Regions from separate parts of the Homo sapiens genome. Here region 2 is linked to region 1. Evidence: promoter capture Hi-C in human tissues and cell types (Jung and others, 2019). All regions are on one chromosome and are shown on one strand. The core of a region is centred on a gene start or on the middle of the fragment in contact, and the rest is flanking DNA. Distances in the headings are between cores, read along the strand shown.

Region 1 (4,775 bases), core at 1,283-3,782:
GGATTACAGGCGTGTGCCAGCACACCCAGCTGTAGGAGTGAATTGACAGGGCATTTGTAGAGGAGATTTTGGTATCTGGGAAAGCAAATAAGCTCCTCATCAAAGGGTACCTTCCAACTCTGAGGTACTATAGAGGGCCCAGGTGTACTTGAGAAATGAGCAGAGAGGATGTCAAGAAAAAACTTATAAGCAGAAAACTTACAAAATGGGAGGTGCCAGACGGCCTTAGGGGACTTCCATAGTTGTCTCTGGTAGTTGGCAGTGACTAGATAGCCAGGAAGATAATTGAGAGATCGTGGGACAGTACTGGGATATGGGAAAAAGGGACATTCTGATCATCCCCTCATTTCTTCCTTTGACCCTAAAGAGACATATGAGCGGCTCGAGGCTGATAAAAAGAAGCAGGTTCATAAGAAGCGGAAGTGCCCCGGGCCCATAATCACCTATCATTCAGTGACAGTGCCACTTGTTGGGGAGCCAGGCCCCAAGGAAGAGAACGTTGACATAGAAGGGTGAGTGAATCTCAAGAGGAAAAGAGATTGTGTGTTCAGCTCATGTTCTCTTGGCCCCATTTTGCTTGCTTTTCTCACACAGCTCTCCTTAACACTTGGAGATTTCTTTCAGATTCCTAACTCCCTTCAGCTCAATTTCTTTTTCTTTTTTTTTTTTTGAGACATGATGCTGCTCTGTCACCTAGGCTGGAATGCAGTGGTGCAGTCTCGGCTCACTGCAACCTCCACCTCCTGTGCTCAGGCGATCCTCCCACCTTAGCCTCCCAAGTAGCTGGGAGTACAGCCACACATGCTAATTTTTGTATTTTTTGTAGAGACGGTTTCGCTGTGTTGCCCAGACTCCTGGGTTAAAGTAATCGTCCCGCTTCATCTTCCTAAAATACTGGGATTACAGGTGTGAGCCACCGCGCCCAGCCCAGCTTATTTCTTTCTTATTCCTTTTTCTTTTAGCTTCTCTGTTCTTCTCTTTCCTGTTTTTCCTTCTAGCCTAGCTTTCTTTTCCCATCAGTCACTTAGTACGTTCCTCAGAATGTTCCCAACACCCTGCCTCCTTTTTCTCTTTCCTCATCTCTCTGATTTCCTTCTTTCTTTCTTTTCTTTTTTTTTTTTTTTTGAGATGGAGTCTCGCTGCTCTGTCACCCAGGCTGGAGTGTAATGGCACGATCTTGGTTCCATGCAACCTCCGCCTCCTGGCTTCAAGTGATTCTCCTGCCTCAACCTCCTGAGTAGCTGTGATTACAGGCATCCGCCACCACGCCCGGCTAATTTTTGTATTTTTAGTAGAGACAGGGTTTCACCTTGTTAGTCAGGCTGGTCTCGAACTCCTGACCTCGTCATCTGCCTGCCTCAGCCTCCCAAAGTGCTGGAATTACAGGTGTGAGCCACTGCACCCAGCCTGATTTCCTTCTTTCTGTATCTGTTGTCTTCTCTCCTCAGCTCTTTGTGTTTTTCCTTGTCTTTTGTCCTCAGACTTGATCCTGCTCCCTCGGTGTCTGCATTGACTCCTCATGCTGGGACTGGACCCGTCAACCCCCCTGCTCGCTGCTCACGTACCTTCATCACTTTTAGTGATGATGCAACTTTCGAGGAATGGTTCCCCCAAGGGCGGCCCCCAAAAGTCCCTGTTCGTGAGGTCTGTCCAGTGACCCATCGTCCAGCCCTATACCGGGACCCTGTTACAGACATACCCTATGCCACTGCTCGAGCCTTCAAGATCATTCGTGAGGCTTACAAGAAGTACATTACTGCCCATGGACTGCCGCCCACTGCCTCAGCCCTGGGCCCCGGCCCGCCACCTCCTGAGCCCCTCCCTGGCTCTGGGCCCCGAGCCTTGCGCCAGAAAATTGTCATTAAATGAAGAGATGTCTAGTCCTCAGAAACTTCTTTCCTGCCCTGATTGGGGCTCTTGCTGTTCCGTTTCTTCTCCCTGCTTCTCCCCTTTGTCATCTCTGATCTTTGCCTAATCTGTTTCTTTTTCCTTTTCCCCTAGTTCTTACAGGTTTCGTTGTGTTTTTTAATCTAATAAAATAGAAAGATCCCTTTTGTCTGGTGTCCAGTCTAGGGTTGGGAGCAAGAAGTATTTGAATACCTGCATATATTTGGGTCTTTATTCGATAGCATTTATTATGAGCTGTCCTTTCTAAATTGTATTCATTCCTCCAACTAAATTATAAACATCTGAAAATTGCACACCAAAACACATCCTTGTATTGACCTTCCTATCACTTTACACTCACTGTTTTGAATACAGCAGGCACCAAATAAGGAGGAACTGGCTGATTCTAGTCGAACTCATATGTCTCAGACTGGGGCTTGTATGAAGGGAAGTGGAAGAGATGCCATGGCTGTTAATGACCACTAGAGGCTCTCAGGGCTGGGCAGGGTATGGGGGCTGTGTATATGTGATCTCCCACTACCCCCCACCTGGCCAGAGCTAAAATAATAAAATGCTGAGCTCACTGTTCCCCCACCCTCTCCCCCGGCACCGGGCTCCTCCTGCTGCTGGGACAGTGCTCTAGTAGAACAGACAGACCTACTGACACAGGGGAGGTGAGAAGGGAGGTGACCACCAGGACTGGTAGGTGGGGAAGACAGGGGGCTTATGGATGAGAGCCCGGTGGGAGATGGGAGGAGAAGAGTGGCTCCTATGGGGAATGATGTGGAGTGTGTCCCTGTCTCTGTCACTCAGTGTATATTTCTGCCACTGTGCCGTCCTACCCCTTAACTGTGTATAGTTTACATTGTCGATGTGTCTCACATACTTTCTGGATCTTTCATATTCAGCATGGTGTGTATGCATAGCTCCTTATGCGTATCTTATATTGTACAAAATTGTGCGAGTTTAATATTCCCACTGTTTTTAAAGAAACTTTACCCTATTTACACCCATTGGTCTGGTGTCACCTTCCTGTCCAAAGCAAGGGACAGATTATGGGGACTCACAGAGGCCTTACTACCCTTCCCCCAACCTGGAAGTCCCCCAACTGCTCCGAGCCCTTGCTTTCCCTTAAGACTTCAAATTTTAGCAAACACAGAAAGTGAAATCTTGATCCCCCACAATAAAAGGGAAATGAGGATGGGGTAAGAGACTCTCTCTTCCCCTTACACCTCATTGTCCTTGGTTTTTTTATCCGGTTTAGGAAAAAGCCTGGATTATGAGGAGGAGAGGAGGAATTTCCCTGAAGCTCTCTATTCCCCCACCCCTCATCCCCTTTCAATAGGAACTGGGCATAGGACCAGCTGTGTTGGCAGGGCTTCCAGCAGCTGTGTTAGGGCGAAGGCACTGACAAGTGAGGTTATAGGGGAGGGGTGCTGCCAGGATTTCTCTGTCATACCGTGGGAAGACAAACCCAGCTTAGATGTCTGGGATCCCCATCCAGAGTGGCTGGAAGCTGGGGAAGCAGAAAGGAGACTCTAGTTCTAACTCTAAACAACCTAATCTTCCCCACTTCCCATCCTCAACTAGACTTCTAATCTCCAAGAAATCCAATCCAATGTTCTGCCCCCCTGGCTGGTCTCTTTGTGTCCCTGCTGTGTCCCTGTCCATCTTACCATTGTCCATCCTTTTGTCCCATGTTGCCCAGGCTCTGTGAGTACCACACAGTGGGGAGGGGGTGGGGGCCACCATGTCATCATATCAGAAGGAACTGGAGAAATACAGAGACATAGATGAAGATGAGATCCTAAGGACCTTGAGCCCCGAGGAGCTAGAGCAGCTGGACTGCGAACTACAGGAGATGGATCCTGAGGTAGGGGCTCCAGCACAGGGAACCAGAGGCAGTCCCAGGCATTTGGGAAGGGTGTTGGGCTCTGGGTGGCTGAGAATAGGGTTTGCTACAGGACCTAGGGTCCTAAGAAGGCCAGGGGAAAGGTGTCCGGTGATGTTTTAGGGAGCCCTAGCAGTACCTAGGTCAGAGGGGAGGTCTGACTTGCTCCCCAAAACTCATCCCTAAGAACATGCTCCTGCCAGCTGGACTAAGACAACGTGACCAGACAAAGAAGAGCCCAACGGGGCCACTGGACCGAGAGGCCCTTTTGCAGTACTTGGAGCAACAGGCACTAGAAGTCAAAGAGCGTGATGACTTGGTGCCCTTCACAGGCGAGAAGAAGGGTATGGGGACCCTGACATCCATGCCTCGTAGAACCCAAGTGGCTGTGCTGTCTCTCACTCGTCCCCACTCCAGTTTCCCTCTCACCTTCCAGCTCCTAGTTGCCTAGGGACTCAGATGCCCTGACACTTAAATGCGAGCTTGCACTCTTCAGTTCTTTTTTTTTTCTTTTTGTTTGAGACGGAGTCTCACTCTGTTGCCCAGGCTGGAGTGCAGTGGTGCAGTCTCGGCTCACTGCAAGCTCCACCTCCCGGGTTCACGCCATTCTCCTGCCTCAGCCCCCCGAGTAGCTGGGACTACAGGCGCCCACCACCACGCCCGGCTAATTTTTTAGTATTTTTAGTAGAGATGGGGTTTCACTGTGTTAGCCAGGATGGTCTCGATCTCCTGACCTCGTGATCTGCCCGCCTTAGCCTCCCAAAGTGCTGGGATTACAGGCATGAGCCACCGTGCCCGGCCGCTAATTTTTTGTATTTTTAGTAGAGATGGGGTTTCACCATGTTAGCCAGGATGGTCTCGATCTCCTGACCTCATGATCCACCCGCCTCGGCCTCCCCAAGTGCTGGGATTACAGGCGTGAGCCACAGCGCCCAGCCCCGCACTCTTCAGTTCTTGAGAGATCAGGGGGCTAAGGACTCTTGAGTTTGTAGAGGAC
Region 2 (4,775 bases), core at 2,276-4,775, 170 kb before region 1:
GGTAGCTCACGCCTGTAATCCCAGCACTTTGGGAGGCTGAGGCGGGCGGATCACGAGGTCAGGAGATAGAGACCATCCTGGCTAACATGGTGAAACCCCGTTTCTATTAAAAATACAAAAAAATTAGCCCGGTGTGGTGGCAGGCGCCTGTAGTCCCAGCTACTTGTGAGGCTGAGGCAGGAGAATCACTTGAACCTGGGAGGCAGAGCTTGCAGTGAGCCGAGATTGCGCCACTGCTCTCCAGCCTGGGTGACAGAGCAAGAATCCGTCTCGAAAAAAAAAAGAACGGGCCCCAACACATATTAGGCTCTGTATAAATACTTGCTGTTATATGATGCTTATCCGGACAATTTTTATTGTTACTGCCCAAGGCAAGGACCATACCTTATTCAGCTTTGTATCCCTAGCTCTTAACACAATGCCTGGCATAAATTAATAGTTTCCTCTTTCCTATCTCTAGCCTTTTCTTTCACTCAACTCTACCTTCTATAGTGCTGTCAAAATCATCTCTTTTACTAGGTACTATGTACTATGATACTTTCTCCCCCCTTACTAAAGCTTCCAGTTTTTCCCTGTTATCTGCAAATTTTTAAGCTAGATAACTTACCCAAAACTCTGTTTGCAACCAAAGTGCTCTAGGTTCTCCTTCATACCAAACAGTGGTGTTAGGGCTATCTTTCCATCAGTCTATATCCATATTTGGCTTGCTATTTATTTATTTATTTATTTAGAGATGGAGTTTCGCTCTTGTTGCCCAGGCTGGAGTGCAATGGCATGATCTCGGCTCACCCAACCTCCGCCTCCCAGGTTCAAGCAATTCTCCTGCCTCAGCCTGCCAAGTAGCTGGGATTACAGGCATGCACCACCACGACTGGCTAATTTTGTTTTGTTTTTTGTTTTGTTTTTTGTTTTTTGTTTTTAGTAGAGACGGGGTTTCTCCATGTTGGTCAGGCTGGTCTCAAACTGACCTCAGGTGATCTGCCCACCTCAGCCTCCCAAAGTGCTGGGATTATAGGCATGAGCCACCACACCAGCCGGCTTTTTTTTTGTTTTTTGTTTGTTTGTTTGTTTTGAGACAGGGTCTTACTCTGTCACCCAGGCTGCACGACAGAGTGGTGCAATCATAGCTCACTGCAGCCTCGAACTCATGGGTAATAGTGATCCTCCTGCTTCAGCCTCCCAAGTTGCTGGAACCACAGGCATGTACCACCACACCTGGCTGTGTGTGGTGTGTGTGTGTGTGTGTGTGTGTGTGTGTGTGTGTGTGTGTGTGTGTGTTTAGAGAGAGACAGAGTCTCACTTTGTTGCCCAGGCTGGTCTCAAACTCCTGGCCCCAAGCAATCCTCTTGCCTTTGCCTCCCAAAGTATTGAGATTATAGGCATGAGCCATCATGTCCAGCCCGTTATACCCATATTTATTTATGAGTATCTGCAAATATGTATACATGCAGTCTAAGGCAGTGCTCAAAACAATCAGCTTTGAGGCAGACTGCCTGCCTTTGGATCCTGATTCTAGCACTTTCTACATATATGACTAAGGACAAGTCCCTTCACCTCTCCACATTGGTTTCCTCATCTGTAAAATGGAGACAGTAACAGTACCTACTTCAGAGAGTTGCTGTGAGCATTACACGAGGTGTTTAGCATTTGGTATGGTGTCTGATACCTAATAAACACCAAATAAATTTTTGTTTGTTTTTGTTTGAGACGGAGTTTCGCTCTTGTTGCCAGGCTGTAGTGTAATGGCACAATCCTCCGCCTCCCCAGTTCAAGTGATTCTCCTGCCTCAGCCTCCCGAGTAGCTGGGATTACAGGCATGCGCCACCACGCCCGGCTAATCTTGTATTTTTAGTAGAGACGGGGTTTCTTCATGTTGGTCAAGCTGGTCTCGAACTCCCAACCTTAGGTGATCCGCCCACCTCAGCCTCCCAAAGTTTTGGGATTACAGGCGTGAGCCACCGCGCCTGGCCTAATAAACACCAAATAAATTTTAGCTGTTATTAGAAAACCTGGCCAGGTGCAGTGGCTCACACCTGTAATCCCAGCACTTTGGGAGGCCAAGGCAGGTGGATCACCTGAAGTCAGGAGTTTGAGACCAGCCTGACCAACATGGTGAAACTCCGTCTCTACTAAAAACACAAAAATTATCTGGGCGTGGTGATGCACGTCTGTAAACCCAGTTACTCGGGAGGGTGAGGCAGGAGAATCGCTTGAACCCAGGAGGCGGAGGTTGCAGTGAGCCAAGATCGTGCCATTGCACTCCAGCCTGGGCAACAGAGCGAGACTCCGTCTCAAAGAAAAAAAAAAAAGAAAGAAAGAAAGAAAAAAGAAAACCTCTTGCCAATATATCCTTATTGCCCCAACTCCACAATCTCCTGGGTTCCCCCAGCACTCATAGAAGCTGATAATAGGGAAAGGTAGGCTGTAAAGGGCAATGGTGATGAGCTCAGGCAGCACTACTGTCTTCTTTACAAAAGCACATTAATGATGAGCCTGGAGAACATATTAGATGTCAGGATGGCAAATACAGTTTTGGTTGTAACATGACCGCTGCGCAAAACAAAATACATCCATGTAAGAGGCTTTCAACCTGGAGTCCATGACCTCTCTGAAATTAGATGCAAAACTTGGTCTCTGTGTGCATTTTTCATGGTAGAGGGTCCATTGCTTTTGTCTGATTCATAACCTTAAAATGTCTTAAGTAAGAGGGTTAAGAACCCATGACCTATTCAGTACAATGTTCCCTGAGTGTAAAAAGTTCCTGTGGCATCCAGCACCCCCGTGGGAGTCCATCAAAATTCCAGGGTTCACCGACTGCAGAACTATGGGGATGCAAATGCATTTGCAACTCTTTGGAAGTAAAGTACACACGGGAAACCAAGAAATACTAAGAGGGAAAAAGCATTTTAGTTTAATGGGTACAACTGCTGAGGTTTTGAGGCCTCCATCAAGAAGGAAAAGAGAGCCCAGATTGCAGGTCTGTTGCGAGTAAGTGTGTCTGCAGGTTGTATTAGGCATGTGGTGATGGTGATGGGGGGTTATAGGAGCTTACAGTGAACTTCCATCACTCCTACCCATCATTGTCTAGTTATTTTATCATCCATTGATTCTTCTCTTCCGGCAGCTCTGAGGACCGTAGACTAAACTGAAACACAAAAGGGGAGGGCAAAAGAAAAGACAGTTCCAAAGGGAGCCGAGCGCCCGTTCTTTCATCCTGCGGTCCCTTTAAGAGAAGAACCTCTTGGGACCTGCAGTCCCAACCGACCCCAGTTTTAACCGAAACCCAACCCGGACTTCCCCCTCTTGACTCAAATAAGACCAACTTTGGATTTTCCCTCCCCTATTGACCAATCAGATTCTGTTACCAGGCAGACTTCAGCGGCCGCCGGTACGAGCCCGGCGCCTTCTGTCTCCGGGTGGCAGCAGTGACCAATGACAGAGCAGGCCGCCCGTGTATCTAGGCAGATCGCGGCTGTTACAACCATTCAGAAAAAGGAAAATAAAGCAACGCACGAGCCGGCTGGGCCAGGACCTTGGGGCTGGGCTGGAGTGAAGGTGGCTACGAGGTAGTTTCTCTTTCTCCCTTACCTTTATTGTTGCTTGTGTTGGAAGGCGACTGTTCAGAGGTAGGGAGGGGCAAGATGAGTTGGGAGGAGAGCAGAAAAAGATTGTAGCTGTATTTTCAACAGCTTCTTCACCCATGTGCACGTGCCCGGAATCTGGGACCCCATTCCCCTGCCGGGTTTCTGACGCCCAGCGCATGAGTTCCGCTACCCCGCCCCACCCCCGCTCCACTTTGCAGAAACCGGGGATTGAATGGAGGGGGAAGGGAAGGAGGTGGGGGCGCGCCTCAGGATGGGCTGTTGTGGGAGATGACGTAGGGGCCGGCGACGTGGGGAGGGGGAGCAGCGGGGGAAGTCGTGGCGAGATTAAGTAATGAGAACTTGGGCCCAGTTTTTTTTCCAAGCCTAGAAGGGCAGAATATGTTCGTATCCTTTCTGACCTCCCAGGCATATGCAATGGTGAGGAGTATTTTTGAGAATTAGAGAACTTTGTTTTGTGGCTGTTATTGTTGTTTTTGAGGGGGAGGAGGGCAGTATGGGGTCAGAGGCAGAAATGAAAATTTCTTGCTAACATGGATTCCCAATCCCCCTATCTCTTCCTTTACAGTTTTCCAGATTTAGGAGACTTCAGAAAGGTGGGGCAGATAGAATGGAGATGGCAAAGATCTCTTTGGGCATATATGGGCCTGGCGAAGTAATGGAATAATTTCTAATTTTCGGAGAAGGCAAGTGGTGAGAAAAAGACCACCGGGGAAATTCGGAGGCTTTGTTTCTGTTTCTCTGCCTTTCTGGGTAAAGAGATGAGGAGTGCCCTGGGGCCTTCTGGGGAAGGGAAGGCCAGTGTGAGTTACATCTTTATGCCTGTCCCTCTCAATTCTAGCCCTCATGCCGGGATGGCAGAAGATGAGCCTGATGCTAAGAGCCCCAAGACTGGGGGAAGGGCCCCCCCAGGTGGTGCTGAGGCTGGGGAACCTACCACCCTTCTTCAGAGGCTCCGAGGTACCATTTCGTAAGTACTCATCACATCTCCAAGTCCTGTCCAAGACCTGAGTATAGATCCCTGCAGCACTTCACTTTGGCTGTAGATGAACTGCCTCTCAGCAAGGGCATGGGAGCAGAGGGAGATTTTTGGCCATGGTAGCAATTCTTGAGCACCTGCTGGGCATTTCAGTCCTTTTCCCTCCCTAGCAGTCAGATAAAGAGACAGGGAAA

The links. Contacts are between HindIII fragments. The study calls those that stand out against the background at their distance.
Region 2: a contact is called between the fragment with the promoter of RFX5 here and the fragment with the promoter of TMOD4 in region 1, in 1 of the 25 tissues and cell types used here (adrenal gland).

The regions. Positions count from the first base shown.
Region 1 is chr1:151,173,738-151,178,512 of GRCh38, reverse strand. TMOD4 (tropomodulin 4) reads left to right here and starts at 2,532. Exons shown (of 10, transcript NM_013353.3): 1 at 2,532-2,589; 2 at 3,596-3,760; 3 at 3,966-4,122. The coding sequence starts at 3,638. It overlaps VPS72 (vacuolar protein sorting 72 homolog), which reads left to right. Exons shown (of 6, transcript NM_005997.3): 5 at 368-512; 6 at 1,482-2,209. The coding sequence ends at 1,869. The HindIII fragment of the contact is 10,118 bases long and covers 1-4,775 here.
Region 2 is chr1:151,346,002-151,350,776 of GRCh38, reverse strand. It overlaps RFX5 (regulatory factor X5), which reads left to right and starts at 3,525. Exons shown (of 11, transcript NM_001025603.2): 1 at 3,525-3,566; 2 at 4,171-4,288; 3 at 4,444-4,572. The coding sequence starts at 4,457. It overlaps RFX5-AS1 (RFX5 antisense RNA 1), which reads right to left and starts at 3,767. Exons shown (of 2, transcript NR_131972.1): 1 at 3,589-3,767; 2 at 2,886-3,145. RefSeq lists enhancers at 3,111-3,460, 3,427-4,009, 3,064-4,263, 4,603-4,692. The HindIII fragment of the contact is 16,924 bases long and covers 1-4,775 here.